Regions from separate parts of the Homo sapiens genome. Here regions 2 and 3 are each linked to region 1. Evidence: promoter capture Hi-C in 16 types of primary human blood cells and fetal thymus (Javierre and others, 2016). All regions are on one chromosome and are shown on one strand. The core of a region is centred on a gene start or on the middle of the fragment in contact, and the rest is flanking DNA. Distances in the headings are between cores, read along the strand shown.

Evidence for each region. Contacts are between HindIII fragments. The CHiCAGO score rates a contact against its expected background, and 5 or more counts as called.
Region 2: a fragment that was not itself captured here is called in contact with the fragment with the promoter of C10orf71-AS1 in region 1 in 3 of 17 cell types (M1 macrophages, M0 macrophages and total B cells); the score reaches 5.9 in M1 macrophages.
Region 3: a contact is called between a fragment that was not itself captured here and the fragment with the promoter of C10orf71-AS1 in region 1, in 2 of 17 cell types (M2 macrophages and M0 macrophages). The highest score is 5.7, in M2 macrophages.

Annotation. Positions count from the first base shown.
Region 1 is chr10:49,296,940-49,301,056 of GRCh38, reverse strand. C10orf71-AS1 (C10orf71 antisense RNA 1) reads left to right here and starts at 2,164. Exons shown (of 2, transcript NR_108038.1): 1 at 2,164-2,367. It overlaps C10orf71 (chromosome 10 open reading frame 71), which reads right to left and starts at 1,887. Exons shown (of 3, transcript NM_001135196.2): 1 at 1,824-1,887. RefSeq lists a silencer at 3,834-4,011. The HindIII fragment of the contact is 569 bases long and covers 1,821-2,389 here.
Region 2 is chr10:48,973,920-48,978,036 of GRCh38, reverse strand. WDFY4 (WDFY family member 4) reads right to left here. Exons shown (of 62, transcript NM_001394531.1): 58 at 2,996-3,175; 59 at 1,058-1,240. LOC105378298 (a long non-coding RNA gene) reads left to right here. Exons shown (of 4, transcript XR_007062370.1): 4 at 937-1,058. Among named protein-coding and RNA genes, the nearest start is that of MIR4294, 9.6 kb to the left of the region's middle. The HindIII fragment of the contact is 939 bases long and covers 1,690-2,628 here.
Region 3 is chr10:48,989,864-48,993,980 of GRCh38, reverse strand. No RefSeq gene overlaps it. Among named protein-coding and RNA genes, the nearest start is that of MIR4294, 6.3 kb to the right of the region's middle. The HindIII fragment of the contact is 3,569 bases long and covers 100-3,668 here.

The sequences.
Region 1 (4,117 bases), core at 915-3,414:
CTCCCCTCTTCAGTAAGGGTCTCCAGGGCTTCCTTAGGGTCAGGAAAAGACAAAGACACTTACTTCTGTCCTGGCAAAAAGAAATCAAGGTGGGAGGATGCAAGGCCATCTCTGGCCTTCCTGTCTACTCTCAACAGCTTTCTCTCCCCAGGTTCCAGGAGACCTAAGCCCCTCTGCTCCAGGACACAGCATTCTACCAGCCCCCTTCTTACCCACCGCACACAGTTGTTCCCTTCCCAGTGAGCTTCTGGTCATCCAAGAGCAGACAAACTTGTTCCCAGAGACCCAGGGGCAGATGTGTGTTGGACTTGGGTCACCCGGGGAAGGCTATTTATAAATCACCCCGATAAGCACAATCTGCCCTGCTCAGCCCAGGCCACATGGACACGCTGTGTGTCTGGTGATTCTACTGCTAAGCTAACCCTCCCAGCACCGTGACAGCAAACTGGACATTTCCTGTATCAGCCAGGCCTAAAAAGTGGGCCCTGGAAGGTGCAGGAGGCTCAGGAGCCAGCCAGCCACTGGTCCTGAAGGGTCTGGCTTACAAACTATTCTAACAGCAAGAACTTTCACTGCTTTTTTTTTTTTTTTTTTTGTATTAAATTGACCCATCTCAAGATGTGTTCTTGTAACACAGTGGTCAGCAAACTTTTTCTGTAAAGGGCCACATTGTAAGCGTTTTCAGTTTTGCAGGCCATATGGTTTCTGCTGATATAGTGTAGAAGCAGCTTTAGACAATATGCAAATGAATGAAGGTGGCTGTGTGCCAATACAACTTTATTTACAAAACCAGATGCTCAGACCACAGACCAGAGTTACCAGCCACTACTGCAAAGGGAACTCAAATGCTGGAAAACAGGACCTCATTTACTACACACATCTGTTTAATCTGCTTCCCAGGTTCCTATACTTAGGGAGCTACCTGAAAGGCCTACACAATGATTTTTCTTAAGGCTATCTAGCTTTCCACACACATTGACCACTGCCGTTCTCAATGTTCAATTCTTCTCCACCAGAAAATAAAAGAGGTAATTTTAGACTCAGTCAAGCATACCCTGTGGGAGTCTGGTGGGGGCCCTCCCAGGGTGTGTAAGAACAGGCAGCCTGTGGCGGGCTTTGTTTTGGGGACACACATGCTCGCAGAGCCCACAGGCCAGAACGTCTCAGTCACCAGTTTTTCTCTTTGTTACAGCTGGTGTGACCCTGCCTGGCCCAGCGCTGGGGGAGCTAAGAAAGCCAGCCTCCCTCAGCCCTGAATGCTGAAAACCTGGGACCATGGGGTCACCCATTTGACAGCGCAGTGGCCTGGGCACATCTGTGCACTCAGCCATGTGGGAGCAGAGATCCCTGACAGATGACACCTAAGGACAAAGTCACACATGTACACGGTTCCGGGTACGTGGTCCCCGAGGCCCATCCAGCACACCAAGAACCTTAGCCCCAACACCAATGGGCTCCCGGCACACACATACCACCCTGCACAGCACCCTGGCACCGAACTACTTCCCCAGCACAGCATCGGCCCAGCGGGAACATCCCTCCCGCCATGAACTTGAGCCTCCCTGCCCACGCTAAGGAGCCAGACAAGTGTCTGGGCTGTACCTTCCGCTCTCTGCGTGTCCAGCTGCTCAGGCCTCCTCGGGAATGGGAGAGAAACCCGGCTCTGCCCAGCAGCCAAGACTTCTTTCCTCTTTATCCAGGCTGCCCAAAGGTGATAGGAGAGTGGATTCAGGACCCAAGCCTCCTCTAGCTCACAAACCTACCCACCTGAGGAAGATCAGTGACCAGAAGCCGGCCAGACACGGGAAGTCCGCGAAGCTTACCTAAATAGAGACCCAGCCGGGGGAAACCAAATGGTGTTCTTGGTGGGGAAGAGGCAAACAGTCCGCACTGCAACACCCGCGTGGTGTCAAGTAACAGTCAGATTAAACAAACAGCCTCAGCTGCTATTTTTACTTCCAAATCAGCCACGAGTAACAGATCACTTGGGGAGTGAGAAATTGCTTGCCGCTTAGCCGGACCCTAACCACGATTCCAACTTCAATCCAGAATGATTGCTAAAGCTATTCCAGCACCTAGAGTCAAATAAAAATATCCCGAGGTGGGAAGGAAAACATTTGTTTAGGGAAACATTAAAAACAGGAGAGTGTGTGCCTTGGAGCCAGAGCCCAGAGCCCTGCTGATGTCCCGGGGCAGAAATAGCCCGTTTCATCATCGGCTCTGGACGACCGCCGCCCGCATTCCTCGAGTAAGGAGCCGTCCTCTGCTGTGCTTTTGGAGCAGAATAATCTGCAGCTAGGGGAAGGCCAGGCTGGGTCTCAGGGTGAGAGTTACAGAAGGATATGAAATAATCGGGGAAGAGGCAAGGTAAGTGTCCACTTGGTAAGCTTGGCTACAGCAAGCCCGGTTGTTTGCAAAGTCCAAGCACCAGTGGACAAGTCCCGTTCTGCCAGGCTCCCCTCTCCACCTCTGGGAAGGGCTGGCCTCCCTTCAACCCTGAGGTGGGCTCATGCCTGCCTTCCCAATGGCTGCTTTCTGTCTCAGGCTGGGGTCACCTGCTCCCCAAACTGCCCACAGATCCCCCAACTTTTTCCACTGGCTTTTCCTTGGCTTGTGCCATGCCAGCTCCCAGAGTGCCTTCCTTACTCTCCCAAGCTGGCCCTAGGATAGTCTGCTTGCTACCAGGATTTAATGCAAGAGTGGGTTTTTTTCCCCCTTTCTCTCCAAGGTTCTTTTTTATGCTTCCCTGACTGTGGCCTGAGAAAGCGGAGATGACTGGCCCCCGCTGGGTGTCCTGCTCTGTGCAGCGCTCAAAGCCTCTGCAAGTTTGCAGTGTGCTGTGTCTTTGGGTCTATTTGTAGACTGTCCCTTCTGCCCCTGTGGGCTCTTCAAGGGCAGCAACCTGTGTCCCAGCCCCAAGCTGGGGCCTGGCACCACCTCCAGCCTTGAACCGGCTGACAGCCAGGGCCACAGGGACCCAGGTCTATGTACTTTTGTCTAAACCAAGTCACAAAGAACAGCTCCTCCTTGCCCTGCAGACTAAGGTGTGAGATTCCAACCAGCAGGAGCATTCAGACCCGCCTCCTCCTGGGAGCCTCAAGACTTGCCTTTTGCCCTGAGAGCTTCAGAACCTCGCTGTGGGGATGATTACTTGCTGCTCCGCACTCAGAGATGCTTTGAGGGAGGCCCAAAGTGAACCCCTCAATTTTACCCACCCACCTCCCTACCTCCCCATTTGCCAAAACAAACGCATGCCAAAAGGTCAGACAAAAGCCATCAACTTGAGATGGGAGCCAACATTTAAAAAGTACACAGGATTTTGAGCCCTGGCTCCATTATTTCCTGGTCAGTTGACATGTCACATACTTACCCTTCCTGAGCCTCAGTTTACCCATCTCTAAAGTGGAGAGAATGCCTGTGCTCTGTGGGATTCAGGGTCAGGGGAGCTCATGTACATGAATATGCTCGTCTATTGCAAAGCTTCCCAAAATGTTAGTCATTTATTTGTTATTTTTTCCCATGATTTTTGCTACACCTCAACCATCTGTATCAACATTTACTTACTATTTTCCTTTAAAGAAAATTTAAATTGACTTGCTTTTTTTCTTGAACAGAAGAACTTTATGGAAAACAACAATACTTAATAGATCATGGATTTGACATATTTGTTAATTTCCCTCCCTCCCAGTACACATTGAAACAAATTTACAGTCAGTTCATATGTCATCTGTTTGACCCAAATCATTTTGTTCCAGATGTTAGAAAATGTTGCATTACTAAACCTCATTTTATGGAGGAGTTTGCTTTGGGGTGTGAGTAACATGAGCTGAAAGCTTCGGCAGGGCCGCTGGTCTTCCTAATTTGCTTTCCTCCCCTCCTCAGCACCTTCCTTCCCCAGCTTACGTTTCATTCTTCACAGGTGGAGAGCATGACCTCATGTCTTGTTTAGGATCCTAGAAACAGCAAGCTTTGCTCTGCAGCAGGAGCGAATGGTGTTTGCTTGAAGTGGCTGATTGAGGAAAGAGCACCGTGGGATGGCTGGGGAATGTTCCGGGGGCCGGGCACTGGCGGGTAGCTTTGTCAATGACATCAGCAGGAGGGGTAGGGAGAGAATAAT
Region 2 (4,117 bases), core at 910-3,409, 320 kb after region 1:
CTTGCAGGGATGTGACTCTGCAACCAGTTTATTGCCATTTTGCTCAACCAATGCCCTCTTGCCCATAATGCTACCACCTCTAGAGTACTCCCTCACCCCTGGGTGGCTGGGCACCCCCATCTTGTGTCTGGCCCTTGGCGCTAAGCCTACTGTGGGAGCCCTGAGGCCAACTCACTCAAAATGGCTTCTCATTCACTGGGTCTGGATTTTATATCACCAAAGGGCAAGGACCAGCCTCCTCTCAAATGCTTCTGTGAGCCCCACGCCAGGCTTAGCACAGCACTGGGCCAGTCCAGGAGCTCAGTGACCACATCGAATGAATGAGTGCTGAGTGCACAGAAGACCCTCACTTACGCTTTGGGGGGGCCCAGGAGAGTAATATACTCTGCAGCTCGGCCACCCCAGGCTCCTCTGGCTGGCCCACTGATGTGGGCCACACCCCACCAAGCCCAGGCCATCCCAGGATGCCCTGCTTTCTGCAGAGGCCACAGATAAAGTCCTATGAGGGGACTGCCTAGGTACCTCAGCCTGCATGGATGGATGGATGGATGGATACATGGAGGGATACATGGATGGATGGATGGATGGATGGATGGATGGATGGATGGATGAGTGGATGGGTGGATAGAGAGATGGATGGGTGGATGGATGGGTGGGTAGATGAGTAGAGAGATAAATGGGTAGGTGGGTAGATAAATTAGTGGATGGGTGGGCAAGTTTGGTTTGAATGGATGACGCAAATATCTCCTTTTAGCATTGGGATATAATCTTTTGCATTTAACCATTCAACTTTTATATGTTGTAACAGTATTTATTTTAGTGTGTGTCTGTGTGTGTGTGCATGTGTGTGTCTGTGTGTGTAATACTATATATATAATTTTATTTATTTACTTTTTCCCTGCAAAGAGCCTTGTCTTTTCCCTTCCTTTGCTGTAGGTACCCGTTCTGGAATGGTCTCAAATGCAACCTGCAGGTTTGGCCCCCTGGAGGAAGTGAGAAGAATGGAGATGAACACGTTTCTTGTGTCATGTCCTCATTCTGCCCAAGACACACCTACCCGGACCATGCCGTCTTGACTCCCGGTGATGATGATCTGGCTTGTGTCCCATGCTGGGCCCTCCATCAGGCAGCAGCAGGTTATGGCTCCTTCTGGGCCCCAGGCTGTGGTGATGCTGGCCAGGGGCTGTCCATTGACATTCCACAGGGACAAGTGTGCTCCCGCACAGGAGACAATGGTGCCCTGTGCAGTGAGAGCTGGCATCACTCTAAGCTGGAGTCACTGCCTGCCCATCAGCCACTTGCTCAGCTACCCAGTTGGTACACCCAAGTACTCTCAATCTGTCATGCTCTGAAGACCCCCAAGGTACCCCAAAACTTCTTTCCAGCTGACTTACAGGTCTGCTGTGTTTTCACACAGTTGTAAATTCTTGGTTCTTTTCATACTGCAGTCATGTGCTTAGATACTTCTTTCCTGGCAGAAGGCACCTGGCTCACCCTCAGGCTCCTCCCAGATCCCACTCCCCAACCACACCCTGACTGCCACAGAAGATCCAGCCTGAAGGGTAGCCCTGGCTTTGGACACACAGCTTACACCTGGTAGGTCAGCCCTGCCCCATAAAGAAGTTTTGGATGCCACCTGGTGGATGGCAGGGTACAGAAGTTCCAATGACTGCATGTGGCTCATAAGCTTGTGCAATGTCCCTGAAGAGGGAATTTCTAAGGAGAAATTTCCCCATTGTATCTCCTGATATGCTCACATTTGAGTCTTTCCTCCTCAAGTCCTGTTTATTCTATAGTGGCCACTGTCACCAAGGTCCTGGGGCCATCCCTTTGAGCCTTGCCCTAATCACAGAAGGGATGTAGGGTGCTCAGTGCCCCTCCACATCTCACTGGGCTGGGATCCATTAGAAGTTCCTGAATTGTTAGGGATGGTCTGTCTGAGGCCAGAGGCCATGTCTGATACCTCTCTGCCCCACAACCAGCAAGCACAGACTGAAATCAGTTGGCTGCAGGACAACTTGTCCTGGTGCCAGGCTTCTCTGGGGTCTAGGGACACAATTCCTGATGGGTTTTATATTCTCCCAGGTGAAGGCTTCAATGCCTTCTATACATCAACCCATCCATCCATTCACCCACCATCTACCAATCCATTATCCATTTCATCCATCTTTCCATCCACCTATTCATCCATTTATCTGCTCATTTATCCATCCATCCATCCATTCATTTATCTATCTACCCATCCACTCATCTATCCACCCGTCCATCCATCTATCCATTCATCCACCCATGCATCCACTCATCTACCCATCCATCCACCCATCCATTCACACTCCATCTACTCATCTAACATTGAATCCAGTTTTGAATTCAAGCCTACCTGGAGCACCACTTTCAGCAAAAATTGGAACCAGGAAGCTCCTATATCATCCCTCCTCTTTTGAGCCCTCTGCCCATTTTATTTATGCCCTGGGCCCCTTAGGTTTTCTGTGAGCAGATGCAGAAACCTCTGCATCCTCAGGGAACCCCATATCCCATGACAGGGCTTCAGTCTGGAAGAAATTTCACACCGGTAAGTCGATCTCCCTGGTCTTTGTTAGCCAGTATGGAAGGAGAGGCAGAGAAGCTTGCACTGCCATGAAGACCAAACCTGCCAAGTCAACACTGATTTGAAGGTAAAGACCTAAATGAGTCAGCCACATCCAACAAAACCCTCCCTAAAAGCCAATTTTTCAGCTGCAGCCCCCTGGTGCCCGCAGCAAAGCAGACACTTCCCACTGTCCCCAACACCAGAGGGAGGAAAGTAAAGAAGCGGACATTGAAGCTAGACCTGGGTGCTACAAGTGAGATCTACAGCGACTGTTCCACACAATTGGGGGCCCTCTCAGCATTCTGGGGTGGCTAGAGTCTCTGTGTCTCTGGGCTTTCTCCTGAGTGTTGTACCCCATGCTACTGCGAAGGTGAGGACACGGACACTGAGAAACAGGAGACTTACTGAGACGTCACTGATGGTGATGGCTGAGATGCCTTCCCGATGGGCGGGCAGGCGGGTCACGTGGGTGAGGTGGTCCAGATCCCACAGGATACAGGTGCAGTCCTGGGAGCCGCTCACCAGGAGGCTGAAGGTGACTGACGCTGCCAGGCACGTGACAGCCTGTGTGTGTCCATACAAGGCCTGGGGACAGAGACTCACAGGTTAGGAGAGGGACCCTCAATTCAGCTACTTTTGGGAATTCTTCACCCTCCCTATAAAGCTGGGTGCTGGATGAGGAAATGGAGATTCTGAGTGAGTCAGTGATTCCCAAGTCTGTTGTCTGTGCAGCTGGGGGTGTGTGCATGTGCGTGTCCATGACTAGCCTCTCCATTTCATTCATCTCCAGGGGTGGAGGCTCTGCTGGGGAGAAACCATTTTTTTACTTATAACCCAACCAGAGGCTAGCCACACCTGGATGTTTTGTGCTGCCCTACATCTATCTTGAACCCGGGAGCAGTTCATGTCATGAGTTGTTTTTTTTTTTTTTTTTTTTTTTTTTTGAGACGGAGTCTTGCTCTGTTGCCTAGGCTGGAGTGCAATGGCATGATCTCAGTTCACTGCAGCCTTTGCTTCCCAGGTACAGCAATTCTTTTGCATCAGCCTCCCAAGTAGCTGGGATTACAGGTGCCTGCCACCATGCCTGGCGAATGTTTTTTATTTTTAGTGGAGATGGGGTTTCACCAAGTTAGCCAGGCTGGTCTTGAACTCCTGACCTCAAGTGATCCACCTGCCTTGGCCTCCCAAAGTGCTGGGTTTACAGGTGTGAGCCATCACACCTGGCCAGTTCATGTTACGATTAACATACAAAGCACTGTTGGCAAACTGTGGTGCCCACACCAGCAGGCTCAGTAGCAGCAAGTAGCCTCTTAGAATGCAAATTCTTGGGTTCCACTCCAAATCTCCTGAATCAGAAACGCTGGGGATGGGGCCCTGAAGTCTGAATTTTCACAAGCCCTCAGGGGATTCTCACATGTGCCCAACTTTGAGAGCCATCTCGGTAAGGGAACCTCAGAGGCACGTGCACTCTTGAACTAAACTGGGAAGAAGAAAAGGGGAGGTCACATGGTCATCAAAAAGATGGGG
Region 3 (4,117 bases), core at 635-3,134, 310 kb after region 1:
CCCTGGCCCATTTATCTAGTGACCCGAAAGGCTGACAGTTTTGAGTGAGGTCCAGAACAGGAGAAGGCTCTGCAACAGGTCCAGGCTGCTGTGAAAGCTTCTCTGCCACTTAAGCCATATGACCCAGCAATCCAATGTTGCGTGGGTGTCAGTGGCAGATAGGGATGCTGTTTGGAGCCTTTGGCAGGCCCCTTTAGATGAATCATAGAAGAGGCCTCTAGGATTTTGGAACAAGATTCTGCCATCTTCTGGAGATAACTACTCTCCTTTTGAGAAACAGCTCTTGGTTTGTTACTGAGCTTTGGTCGAAACTGAACGTTTGACTATGGGTCATCAAGTCACCATGAGACCTGAACTACCTATCATGAACTAGGTGCTTTCTGATCCATCTAGCCATAAAGTGGGTCATGCACAGCAGCATTCCATCATCAAGTGGAAGTGGCATATACGTGAGCAGGCTCCAGTGGGTCTTGAAGGCACAAGTAAGTTACATGAGGAAGTGGCTCAAATGCCCATGGTCTCCACTCCTGCTACCTTGCCTTCTCTTCCCCAGCCTGCACCGATGGCCTCATGGGTAGTTCCCTATGATCAGATGACAGAAGGAGGAAGAGAACCATCACAGATGGTTCTGCACAATATGCAGGCACCACCCGAAAATGGACAGCTGCAGCATTATAGCCCCTTTCTAGGACATCCCTGAAGGACAGCGGTGAAAGGAAATCTTCCCAGTGGGCAGAACTTTGAGCAGTGCACCTGGTTGTGCACTTTGCATGGAAGGAGAAATGGCCAGATGTGCGATTATATACTGATTCATCGGCTGTAGCCAATGGCTTGGCTTGATGGTCAGGGACTTGAAAGAAGCATGATTGGAAAAATGGTGACAAAGAAATTTGGGAAAGAGGTATGTGGACAGACCTCTCGGAGTAGTCAAAAACCATGAAGATGCTTGTATCCCATGTGAGCACTCACCAACGGGTGAACTCAGCAGAGGAGGATTTTAATAATCAAGTGGATAGGATGACCCATTCTGTTTCTGTGGATGCCACTCAGCCTCTTTCCCCAGCCACCCCTGTCATCGCCCAATGGGCCCATGAACAAAGTGGCCATGGTGGCCAGGATGGAGGTTATGCATGGACTCAGCAACATGGACTTCCACTCACCAAGGCTGACCTGGCTATGGCCACTGCTGAGTGCCCAATTTGCCAGTAGCAGAGACCAACATTGAGCCCTCTATATGGCACCATTCTTCAGGATGATTAGTCAGCTACCTGGTGGCAGGTTGATTATATTGGACCTCTTCCATCATGGAAAGGGCAGAGATTTGTCCTCACTGAAATAGACACTTACTCTGGATATGGGTTTGCCTATCCTGTATGCAATGCTTCTGCCAAGACTACCATCCACGGACTCACAGAGTGCCTTATTCACCATCAAGGTATTCCACACAGCATTGCCTCTGACCAAAGCACTCACTTTGTGGCTAAAGAAGTGCAGCAGTGGGCTCATGCTCGTGGAATTCACTGGTCTTACCACGTTCTCCATCATCCTGAAGCAGCTGGATTGATAGAACGGTAAAAATGGACTTTTGAAGTCACAATTACAATGCCAGCTAGGTGACAATACTTTGCAGGGCTGGGACAAGGTTCTCTAGAAGGCCATGTATGCTCTGAATCAGTGTCCAATATATGGCACTATTTCTCTTATAGCCAGGATTCATAGGCCCAAGAATCAGGGGGTGGAAATGGAAGTGGCACCGCTCACCATCACCCCTAGTGATCCACTAACAAAATTTTTCCTTCCTGTTCCCATGACATTACATTCTGGTGGCCTAGCGGTCTTAGTTCCTGAGAGAGGAACACTGCCAACAGGAAACACAACAACAATTCCATTAAACTGAAAGTTAAGATTGTACCTGGACACTTTGGGCTCCTTCAACAGGCTAAGAAGGGAGTTACAATGTTGACTGGGGTGATTGACCCGGACTATCAAGATGAAATCAGTCTGCTACACCATAACAGAGGTAAGGAAGAGTATGCATAACAGAGGTAAGGAAGAATACAGGAGATCCACTTGGGTGTCTCCTAGTATTACCATGCGCTGTGATTAAGATCAATGGGAAACTACAACAGCCCAATTCAGGCAGGACTACAAATGACCCAGACCCCTCAGGAGTGAAGGTTTGGGTCACTCTACCAGGAAAAAAACCACGACCTGTTGAGGTGCTTGCTGAAGGCAGAGGGAATCCAGAATGGGTAGTTGAAGAAGGTAGTCATAGATACCAGCTACAACTACATGACCAGCTGCAGAAACGAGGACTGTACCTGTCATGAATGTTTCCTCCTTCTTTCGTTAAAAACAGGTTTGTGCATGTATACACTTGTACTAAGAAAATATCTTCATTTTATTTCCTTTTTCTTTAACATGTGACATAAGATTTATTGACTTCATGTCAGCATTTAAGTGTTGCTAACTTCAGGTAATAGTATTTGGGTTGGGGATTGGTGTGTTTCCGGTTGTACAAAGGATAGTTTTATTAAGTTAGGTGTAATTATGACCTTATTGTTTTCTTTATTTGAAGATTATGTATGATATCAGGAGATGTGTGTGGGTTCAAGTTGACAAGGGGTGGCCTTGTGATGGTTAATAATGAGTGTCAACTTAATTGGATTGAAAAAAGTATTGATTCTGGGTGTGTCTGTGAGGGTGTTGCCAAAGGAGATTAATATTTGAGTCAGTGGGGTGGGGAAGGCAGACCCACCCTTAATCTGGTGGGCACAATCTAATCAGCTGCCAGAAAATATAAAGCAGGCAGAAAAACGTGAAAGGTGAGACTGGCCTAGCCTTCAGCCTACATCTGTCTCCCATGCTGGATGCTTCCTGCCTTCAAACATTAGACCCCAAATTCTTCAGTTTTGGGACTCAGACTGGCTCACCTTGCACCTCAGCTTTTAGACAGCCTATTGTGGGACTTTGTGATCATGTAAGTTAATACTTAATAAACTCCCCTTTATATATATATACACACACACATATATGTATGTATGTGTGTGTATAGATGCATATATGTATGTATATGTATACATATAGGTAGGTGTGTATATATATACATGTATGTATATATGTATGCATATATATGTATGTGTGTGTGTGTGTGTGTGTGTGTGTGTGTGTGTGTGTGTGTATATATATATATATATATATATATATATATATATATATATATATATCCTATTAGTTCTGCCCCTTTAAAGAACCCTGAGTAATACAGTGGCTTTCAATGACCTGGAGATCTTAAGTCTGACAAAGTTCAATTCATCATTTTTTTTTCTTAATGGGTGATTTAAATAACTCCAGTTTACAAAGAAGTTTTCCTAGGTTTTCTTCTAGAAATTTTATAATTTTAAGTTTCACTTTTAGGTCTAAAATTTATTTAAAATTAATTTTTCTTGATGGCATGAGGTGTTGGTCACAGTTCTGTTTTTTTCATTGCACATGGATCCTCACTGTTCCAACGCTGTCTGATGAAAGGGCTCTTTCTTCCACTGTATTTCCTTGGCACATTTTTCAAAGCCAGTTGACCACACATGGGTCTGTTTCTGGACTCCATTCTGTTCCATTGATTTCTCTGTCCTCAATGTCAAAAGCACACTGTCTTTATTACTGAAGCTTTCTAATAAGTTGAAATCACATAATGTAAATCCTCCAACTTTGTTCTTCATTCAATGTTTTTAGGCTCTAACTTATTCTAGATCCTTTCATTTTCATATGAATTTCAGAATTAGTTTGTCAGTTTCTACAAAAAAGCCCATTGTAATTTTCACTGGGGTTAGATAGAATCTGTAGCTCAATTTGGGGAGAACTGACATCTCAATAGTATTGGGTCTCTTAATCTATGGCTACGGTGTAGCTCTCCATTTATTTAGGTCTTTGATTTCCCTCAACAATGTTTTTGTAGTTTTCAGATTATATGTATTTTAGTCATATTAGTCCTAAGTGGTTCATATTTCTGATGTGTTTCTAAGTGGTATTGAGATTTTAGTTTCAATTTCTGACAGTTTTTTGGGGCTGAGATGTCCTGAGAGCTTAGACGTGAGGCATGAGGGAGGGGCATACTCAG